Linked DNA regions of Homo sapiens: region 2 is linked to region 1. The links are contacts of gene promoters, found by promoter capture Hi-C in human tissues and cell types (Jung and others, 2019). All regions are on one chromosome and are shown on one strand. The core of a region is centred on a gene start or on the middle of the fragment in contact, and the rest is flanking DNA. Distances in the headings are between cores, read along the strand shown. Region 1 holds the start of CATSPER3 (cation channel sperm associated 3). Region 2 overlaps PCBD2 (pterin-4 alpha-carbinolamine dehydratase 2).

Region 1 (5,331 bases), core at 951-3,450:
TTTTGTCTGCTTACCTCAAGAAGTCTGAACAAGCGGTACCTTATGTCATAACTGGTCCACAAGGCCATAAAAAACGCATTCGATGTGACAGTGCTAATCATAATTATCTTAAAGAAACGGCTCATTATGACTCTCTTCACAAATGCCCGACATTCATCATCGTTCCTCCTGTCAAAAAGTTGAATGTGAAGTATGGTTACAGCACAATAGAGCTAGATCCCCATAAAATGCATACCTTTTTGTAGGGACAAGGCTCTGCTTTCTCCCTTGTGTGAATATAAATTTACATATACTTTTAAATAGCAATGAGATGTTGAATAAATGACCACTGACATATATATGATGATCATGGATACTCTGTCCTCACTCAGTTACTTAGCTCCCTCTCCCTGGACCTCTGAAAAAGAATGGTCACCACTCCTTCTCCAGCAAAACAAAGTGTCATCTTCATTGACTCAACAAATCTTTATTGAGTGGCAACTACATATCAAGCAATCTAGTAGGCACTGGGAACACAGTGACAGCAAGACTAAATATTGCCAGTCTACTAAGCAAAACTGATAATCATCAAATAATCACCCATACACATGCTCACATCAGTAATAAAAAACTGAATACCCCAAGAGAAAATGGGCACACAATCTATTCATGAAATAAACACCAAAGACAAACAAACTTCTCCAAATATGTTCTACAGCAATACCAATCAGGGAGATGCAAAGTAAAACCATTGTTTTTGTTTATAAAATTAGCAATGACTTAAATGTGATAAGATCTAATGCTGGCAACAGTGTAGTATGATTGAGCACTCTCAAAAACTGCCAGAGGCATAAAAACTGACCAGCTCTTTTGAAAAGCCTGAGAACCATTCATTCTCTGACCCAAGATAATATAACCTGAAATGAAATAACTTCAACTAAACATGTCTATCTCAGTATTTTTTCCAGCACTGAGAAGCTTGAAAACAACTTAAACATCTAACAAAAAGGACTGTGTAAGTAAATTATGGTATGTCCATCTTGTGAAATACAGGCACTAAAATATGTCTATGCATTTTTCAGGATTTAGAAAAATGTTTATGATCCATTTTTATATCTTTTGTTTTTGTGTGCAGCAAAACACAAAAACCAAAGATACAAAATTCTCTGTTCAAAATTATCTCACCTGTGCAAAAATCAGCAGTAGAAAAAATCAGCAGGAAATATGCCAAAATTTTAACAGTGTCTGTCTATGGATGGTGAGGTTATAGGTGATTCTTTTTCCTGTTTATTTCCATTTATCTGTGCTTTGCAATTTTTCTCAGAGTACGTATTACTGTTTCCCATTATATGTTACAAATGAAATGAACACATTCTCATAAGTTAAAAAAATATAGAATATATATTTTTCTTTTTCCTTTTCTTTTTTTTTTTTTCTGAGACAGAGTCTCGTTCTGTCACCCAGGCTGGAGTGCAGTGGTGCAATCTTGGCTCACTGCAACCTTCGCCCCCCAGGTTAAAGGGATTCTCCTGCCTCAGCATCCTGAGTAGCTGGGACAACAGGTGCACACCATCACTCCGGGCTAATCTGTGTATTTTTAGTAGAGATGGGGTTTCGCCACGTTGGCCAGGCTGGTCTCAAACTCCTGACCTCAAGTGATCCGCCCCAGCCTCTCAAAGTGCAGGGATTACAGGTGTGAGCCACCGTGCCCAGCCAGAATGTATATACTTTTCTAATATATCAAGATATGTAATTTTCATTATCTGATTTGAGATGGGGTCTATTATAAAAAAAGAGAAAAGCCTTCAGATTATCTAACAGTCAAACTGGTCAAACTGGTCATTCAAGTCTACAGGGCACATAAAGGTAATAGCATGCCAGCCTCACCAATCATAGAAACCAGATTGTCAAGGACATGCAACTTATTTTGGTAAGCAGACGAGTATCTGAGGGAAGAGGCTGAGAGAACACTGACACCCTGCCCTCACACTTCTACTAGCACATTTCTTAACAGGCAATGGAGATAGATAATATTTACTTAAATTTCTTGAATGTTGGGCAAAATCCCACCGATGTAGTGTCAACTGGTGAACTAGAAATGACTCTCGAGTGGCGCTGGTGACGGTGTTGAGACATTTTCCAAATTTTCAACTTTTATTCCTTGCTTTTAGCATCCAACAGAAAATCTCTGCTTAGGGATTTTCCTTAGCGTCTGGATTCTGAGAGGCAGCAGAGAAGGGGCCACGAAGGGAATCCTTGCTTTATGAGGTCACTCTTGGGCATTCTGTTGCATTACCAGTGTGTAGGCCCCTGAAGTGGGGAGCTCCCAAGTGGGTCTATCATGGATTCTCTCTTCCCAAGGAGACTGAGTGCCTCCATTCAGCAAAAAGGCTATGGGCACCCAGCAATCATGAGGCTCTGGGTTAAAGCTGGAAGTCACTAGAAACAGACCACACAAAGGCCCTCCCTTCAAGAAGTGCCCCCAGCTGATAGACACAGGCCCTTAATAATGTGTTAGAAAAAGTTAAGGGTCATATATAAGGGGGAAAAGCAAGTTCTCTGGGCTCTAAGAGAAAGAGAGCACATCCAGGGCACAGCACTGGAAAACACCTGGAAGGACAAGAAAAGATTGTGATGGGTTTGACTTAGAACAAAAGAAAACAAGAGAAGCAAAGAAGGTAATAGTGAGGTAGGGATAGTGGCTCACACTTATAATCCCAGCAACTTGGGAGGCTAAGGTGGGAGGATCACTTGAGGCCAGGAGTTTGAGATCAGCCTGAGCAACATAGTGAGACCCCCATCTCTAAAAAAAAAATAAGAAATAAAAATCAGCGACGAGGCATAGCGGCTCATGCCTGTAATCCCAGCACTTTGGGAGGCCAAGGCAGGCAGGTCGCTTGAGGTCAGGAGTTTAAGACTAGTCTGGCCAACATGGTGAAACCCCATCTCTTACTAAAAAAAAATACATAAATTAGCCGCGCATGGTGGCAGTTGCCTGTAATCTCAGCTACTCAGGAGGCTGAGGATGGAGAATCACTTGAACCCAGGAGGTGGAGACTGCAGTGAGCCAAGATCGTGCCATTGCACTCCAGCCTGGGCGACAAGAGCGAAACTCCATCTCCAAAAAAAAAAAAAAAGGAAATAAAAATTACCCATGGGAGGCTGAGGCAGCAAGATAACTTGAGCCCAGGAGTTCAGGACTAGCCTGAGCAAGATAGTGAGACTGTCTCTACAAAAAATAAAAATAAAAAAAATTAGGTGGGTGTGGTGGCATGCACCTGTAGTCCCAGCTACCAGAGAGGCCAAGGTAGGAGGATCACTTTAGTCCAGGCGTTGGAGGTTACAATGAGCTGTGATCACACCACTGCACTCCAGTCTGCATGATAGAATGAGACCCCATCTCTTAAAAAAAAAAAAAAAAAGAAAAAAAGAAAGGAGGCAATATAAACCCTGAGTTGGCTAACTGCAGGCATAGGATGGGATGTGCACATATAAACCACCTAAACAGAATATAAAGAGTGAGCACATGTGGCAGAGATGTTTTAAGTACAAAAGTAATAGGGATTTTTGCTCTGTTCAACTCTCAGGATTAATATATTCTCCCCACTCACCTTCTCCTAACTCCTTTGGCTTTCAGGGCAAATCAGGACAGTGGGATCTGGGTAGCCCTGTGTTGTATTAAATGCTCAGTGGCTAAATTGGTCAATCTCCTGGACACCAAAGTTCTTGGGCTGTAAGAAAAGGAAGTAACTACCCCACCATCTCTGCTGTCCCTGGTATTCTACAACAAGTATATATGACCATTCATGGTAGGAAAATACTTTGTGGGCAACCAATATACTGAACTGGGAAATAACATCTTACGTACTCATTTTCTCCATTTAAAATCATCAACAGCAAAGTTTTAAGAATCACTGTGATTAATGTCCCCACAATTCAAACTTTAGCCCCATCTTCTCCGTCTTCATTGTTTCCCTCAGGGATCAGCTCCTCCTATAACTCCTGCTATGTCCTTTAGTTATATGCCCCTAACGTCTCAGGGCTCCTGCCCAACATCCATCCACAGGGGCCTCCTGGGGCAGCTGCTCTAAGACAGCCCGCATCAGCTCTCCATCTGTTTCTACCTGCCCTGATATGTCACTGTGCTCAATCCCCTAGGGCACACAGAAGGCCCTCAGTAAGTGTGTGCCGTATGAATATACAAAATAATGGCATCAGGGATCCCTGTGCTCATTCACATAGCTAGGGACAACAGGATTTCATCTCCAGGAAACTCAGTAGTATACTTTTGTGACTTCTCTCTTTAAGCACCAAAGCATACTTTCAGGGAAAAACAAAAAAGAGATTAAAAATGTAAAGAATTCTTTCATGCTGCTTGGAGAGGTGAGGGAAGGTAGCCCACTGAAAGTGACAGAGAAGAGCCCAGTTGTTCTTGGTGTACTACATCAGCACAGCCACAGATGAATGCTGTTTCTGAAGCCAATGATGAAGACTTTAGTCTGGAAATGAAACTCCAGCTGAGTGAGTGGAAAGCAAACAGGAAACCAGAGGTGACAAGCTGATCCAGGGCCTACTGAAATCATACATATCTTCTCATGGATTGGTGGGCAGGGCAGGCATCCTGGGATGAGAAGCCCAAGGGCCATCTCCTGTGCCCTTTCAGCAGCAGCTCATGCTCTGCGTGACCTAAGCAGCACCATCTCAGCCACAGATAGCCGGGGAGAGTCAGCCAATGGCAGGTGCAGCAGCTTGGTGACCCTGAAGTCCTCTGGACAGTCATTAATTTACTAATCCTGAGTAACTGGCATTGAAACACAAAGCTCACATATGATGGCCAAACCCTCCCGATGTTTTTCTGATAACTTTACAAAACTGAAAGCTACAGAGTCCACCTAGAATGTTTCTGAATGCTGAATCAGAAAGTGTACAGACCGCTCCCTACTAACCCTAGTGGTCCAATAGTTCAATATATTAACCGAGGCAGGCTTGTGTCCAAATACAATGTACATGCTGCTGCTTTTTGTCTATAGCAAAAACATAAACAGCCATGCTTAAGCTATTTATCCAGAGGTTTCCTAAATCCTATCAATGTCAGAAAGTAATCACTATTTTCAGAACTTTCATTAACTTCATTGTAGAAAAGGACATCGTCAACCATGTGTCGGCCCGGTTTGCTATCTGTGGAGGTCATGCAAGAGGTCAAAGGTCATGTCTGTTTAACTCCTCTCTACTCCAGTGATCTTTTAGAAAGAAAACAGAAGAAAGCCAAAGCTTACCACATCAGAGAAACCACTGTCATCATGCAAAGATTTGGAACAGACAGGAACCTGGGGGCCTCCAATTTTGACAATA
Region 2 (5,349 bases), core at 1,415-3,914, 33 kb after region 1:
ACCTATTCTTAATTATAGTCCTAAAACACTGCAATATTAGATTTATAACCTAGTCTCAGAATACCAAAGTAACTGATTTCTCAAATAAAATTCATCTTTTTTAGTAAGGGAAAAGTTGCATGTATTTTAAAAAGAAATATCTGTAGATGGAATGAAAAAAATATTTTCATGTAAAATGGATATATCTGTTCATCCAATAGTAACCATATTATTATAATAGCCAAAATTTGCTAAATAAGGATTTCATTAGAAGAAATAAATGCTTTACTTATGTATTATAATCTGAAATCTGAAAAAACAAATATGCAATACTATTTTACATAGCTTAAAACGAAATTCTAAATAAAAATAAAGTCAATACCAGTTTTTATTTTTCAACATGGAATGTTAATTATGAAAGAACCAAGCTAAACATTGCCTTTTAAGTCAATGCACACAGAAGTAGTTTATACCTATTTAGTGCTATAAAATTGGCTCATTTGGTTTTAAATTATAGCCATTTTTCCTATACCTAAGGTAATAGGGCACTAATGAGTGACAAAATCTGGCAATGTGCACTTCAATGATCATTTTAGGATTTAACTCATCTCTGAGTTGAAGAGAGAAATAATGCTTCTCCCTGAAAACAAGCAGGTCTTCTATTCTCAAAATCAACCTTCTAAGGTTCTGTCTTTGGCCACTGGACAGATGCAGCTCCTGGGCCCTTTTAGGCTAAATTCGGGGATCTTAAAGGTAGCTACCTGGCAAGCAGCCTTATCACCAGCATGTCATGAATCCTGTCCCCTTCAGAACATTAACTGATACCTTTAGAAACAAAATCATACTGCAATGGATGACCTGAAGAGAAAAAGGATCATGGTCAGCAAAACAAGTTATCAGTTTCTTACGTTTCTGCTTTCCACACAGGATCTGAAACCTTTAACATGTCTGGAAATCCCAGAATCTTCCCAACAGTCTGTTCCTGAAAGCATGTGATATAAACAGTTACCAATCTGCTGCTCTGTACCCAGCACCTTCCTGGGCTCTGGCCCTGGTCACAGCTCCCGTTCCTCAAGGAGCGTCCAGTGCGACTGAGGAGGACAGAAAGGTTAACCACAGAGAGCTATTAAGGAGTGAAGGAGCAGAGGTAAAACAATCCAGAAGGCTGTGTGAGAGGCCGGGGCTGGGCACAGCCATCTCCTTCTTACTCTTCCTCTCCACAGATGTCCAAGGGGAACCTGCACAGCAAGCCAGGGTCACAAACAGGGCACCCAAGTTACCCACGGGGCTCAACTGATCCTAAGTACACAAAAAAGACATTAAAATTCGCCAAGAAATATTTTACAAGGTTCCACATCAGTTATTAATGGTATTTTCTTATACTGTTAAGTGACTAATTACACTTGGTAACATATTAAATTATAATTTTAGCCTCACTTCTAATCATCTTTTTTCTATCACCACAACATTTTCAGCATAATAATTCTTGGCTGCCGTTCCACTTCCTTAGTGAGACCCAGGCCAAAGAAGCTTACAACTTCCCTCCAGAAAGATCAACAGAGCAGAAAGAACCTCCACACTGAGTTCCAGCTTAAAGCAGGCATTTCCACTCAGGGCTACGCACGCTGCCCTAGCCTCGGCGCCAACACTTAACATGACAACTGTCTCATTCAGGAGCAAGATGACTGCCAAGCCAATTGCAACTATTAATGAGGAAACAGACTTTGCTTATTTCTTAACTGGTTTATATTTTTTAACATGTTTTAAAACACAAAATTTCCAGAAAGTTGAACTTATACTTTTAATTCCATTCTGGACTGCTAGCTAAATTTTACAAATACAAAGAAATATGTTATCAGTTTCTTTGTCAAATGAGAGGACACCAAAGAAATTCATCATTCAATTCTTATTTGTAGGAGCAGATTCTCTGTAACTTGTAAATTATTTTGATTTACAGTGAATCATTATTGCATTCATAAATGCTGGAAAGTTGGTGAACAACATGATATAATGACACCCCAAAATAATTTTATAACTGCAGGTGTGCAAATCGTAACATGTGGGAGATGACTCAAAGGATAATGGGGAATAAAGGAGTTTAGGAAGGTCACATAAAGGAGGGAAAGGGATGAGGGCATGTACCCAATTTTCTAAGATGTCTTCAAACCCAAACCACTCCTGTTTAGGCAGATGCAGTGGCGCAGTCAGGCACGGGCAGCAGAGTCAACAGTTACATTTAAACCAGCAAAAGCAAAATGCTTCATAATTTACAACAACCCAATCAGATTGCTCATTCTTTTGAGGTTAAATGCTACTGACATAAGCTACACCTGAATCCAATCAGTGCAGAAACATTGAGAAGATTCACACGAAAGGACTAAATTTGTCACAAATGGGTTGGTTTCCGATCTTAATGTAGCCAAGTTGCTTTACTCTGACCTCCATTGAACAAATCAACTTAATGGGCACTAGGAGTGCTATAAAACTTAACAATGGAGTGATTTTTAACTTTTAAAATATAGTTATGAAGCAAAATGTTGGATAGCTTCTACAATACTGGAAATCAAATTAAATCTAGATGTTTTTTAACAGTCTTGACAGATATAATCCTAGTTACCATGTAAATTTATGGTAAGCTGCTGTGATATTAGCCACAGGTGCTACTTTTAATATATGAGCCGCATCTGGCTGGGAATAGAATTTCTCAGAGGACTGAAAATGACCTCACTATCAGACAATGGAAGGGAAAAAAACAAGACCACTGTGGCATATAAAAAGCTGAAGATGTGGTCCACAACTAAATATTTCACATAAAATTCATTTTAACTCTGCAGTTGTAGGTTAAAGGATATTATGCCTTCAATATTTAAGAGGCATAGATGTATTTCAACCAAAAAGCCGAAAGATTAAGAATGTAAGACAGTTATGAATACCGTGGCTACAAATATAATACTAGTTTTCCAATCTTTGATCAATGTCAGAAAAAATGATGCACTAAGACTTGAAAAGAGAATTATTTCATGGTTCCCAAGCACACGACCTGATTAGACACCACGGAGCATACCAAACCATGATGTAACAATTACTGATCTCTAAGCAGCAGCCACTCTCCAGCACCTGCCCAACATTACTGGTTGTGTTGTAAAAGTTCTTTGGGGTCATTCATCGGGCCCAAGAAAACATTTTCACCAAGTGAAATTTTTTTTTTTAAAATCATTATAAGTAATTAATTACCATTCTGAGTTTGAGAACCAGCAATATCACCCAGAGACAAATACAAAGGGGAAAGTACATGTCCCTTACTTATCCAATTCAAAAATAAAAACACAAATATGTATAAAACATGGAATTGTTTGCTTTCAGGAAACCCTTCCTGAACCACTCGAAAGCCATCATTTGCCACAGAACTAGCAAGTGTGGAAATGTGATAGAGGATTTACAAAGATTTAATTTCCTATGAAATAACTCTTCCTGAATTAAACAAGCCTTCTTTATCCGAAAAAACTCTCTAAAAGAGAAATATTTCTGTGAAAATATTTCCTACACCATTGCACTAAGCTGTGAGAATGGTGGCTACAAAGCCCTATAACATAACATTTTCCTTCTGGCTGTCTCAAGTAACTTGAAGGGCTTGATTTTTTAGCTTCAATGGATCAATTCTATCTAGGTGATGATTTCTATTTACTTTTTTAACAGGTGACTGGATCTATTCCTGATCTCAATGGGCATGGAGATCCTGAGTATATTTAGCAAGAACTACCCAGTACAGCTCCCTGACACTTTTGTGTCCAACTGACAGCATTAATACGGAGCATTTAGAAAAGGTGGGCTCACAAAGCCTCTTCTGTGAGGATGGTTACCGTAGAAAGGGATTGGCTAAATTAAATATGGCTTTTTTGTTCAATGGAATAATTTATATATCTCCCACCATTCAAAATCGTGTGGTAAGCCAGCTGCAGTGGCTCATGCCTACAGTCCCAGAACTTTGGGAGGCTGAGGTGGGTGGACTGCTTGAACCCAGGAGTTCAAGACCAGCCTGCGCAATATGGCAAAACCCAGTCTCTACAAAAAATACAAAAATTAGCCGGGTGTGGTGGCGCATGCCTGTAGTCCCAGCTACTCAGGAGGCTGAGGTAGGAGGATCATCTGAGCCCAGAAGATAGAGGCTGCAGTGAGCCAAGATGGCACTACTGAATCCTGCATAGGTGACACAGTGAGACCCTGTCTCAAAAAACAAAACAAAAAATCATGAGGTAAAATATTTTACTGATGTGAAAATATTCACTATACATGAAATGAAAGAAGCAACTGACCAAAAATATCTATAATATGATCCCAAATATATATACATACATAAACATTCACACAAATGCACATTCACAGCGTTTTTAAGTGAGCAGAAAGATTACAGGTATATTTTTCTTCTTTATACTTTTCTGTTTTCCAAATTATAAAACATATTATGCAATCATAAAAAAAAATTTATTTACCAGCTGAACATGCCACTCAAATGTTAACAGGAGGGTATCATTCCTATTAGAATGAGAGGCCTGGTGGATGTGGATCTCTGTGGAGTATGAGTGACCTATAAATGTTAAACCCTTCTATTTAAAGCTCACAGTTTTAAACACATAGAAAAATGGAAGAGACTCACCCACAAGCTTACATAACAGAATCATAGTTTAAGAAACTCCGAATTGGCCAGGTGTGGTGACTCTCGCCTGTAATCACAGCACTTTGGGAGGCCAAGATGGGAGGATCGCTTGAGGCCAGGAATTCAAGACCAGCCTGGGCAACATAGTGAGATCCCATCTCCACAAAAAAAAGTAAAATTAAAAAATTTGCCAGGGGTGGGCATGGTGGCTCACATCTATAATCCCTGCCTGAGAAGGCAGGGGGGATCACTTGAGGTCAGGAGTTCAAGACCAGCCTGGCCAACATGGTGAATCCATGTTGCTACTAAAAATACAAAAATTAGCTGAGCGTGGTGGCGCATCCCTGTAATCCCAGCTACTTGAGAGGCTGAAGCAGGAGAATTGCTTGAACCCAGGAGACGGAGGTTGCAGTGAGCTGAGATCGCACCACTGCATTCCAGCCTGGGTGACAGAGCAAGACTACAACTCAAATAAAAAAAAAAATTAGCCAGGCAATGTGGCATGCATCTATAGTCCCAGCTACTCAGGAGGCGGAGGTAGGAGGATCGCTTGAGCCCAGTAATTTGAGGCTACAGTAAGCTACGATCACGTCGCTGCACTCCAATCTAAGCAACAGAGACCCCATCTCTTAAAAAATAATAAAAAGAAACAAAAAAAAATTGTTTAAAGAAACTCAGAATTAAAATGGCCCTCTCTTCTATGCATCTGTATCCAC

The links. The method cuts DNA at HindIII sites, captures the fragments that hold promoters and counts their contacts. A contact is called where the count stands out against the background at its distance.
Region 2: a contact is called between a fragment that was not itself captured here and the fragment with the promoter of CATSPER3 in region 1, in 1 of the 25 tissues and cell types used here (thymus).

What each region holds. Positions count from the first base shown.
Region 1 is chr5:134,964,776-134,970,106 of GRCh38, reverse strand. It overlaps CATSPER3 (cation channel sperm associated 3), which reads right to left and starts at 2,200. Exons shown (of 8, transcript NM_178019.3): 1 at 2,018-2,200; 2 at 15-168. The coding sequence starts at 2,115. The HindIII fragment of the contact is 15,471 bases long and covers 1-5,331 here.
Region 2 is chr5:134,932,113-134,937,461 of GRCh38, reverse strand. All of the region lies in intron 2 of PCBD2 (pterin-4 alpha-carbinolamine dehydratase 2), which reads right to left. Among named protein-coding and RNA genes, the nearest start is that of PCBD2, 30 kb to the right of the region's middle. The HindIII fragment of the contact is 5,267 bases long and covers 31-5,297 here.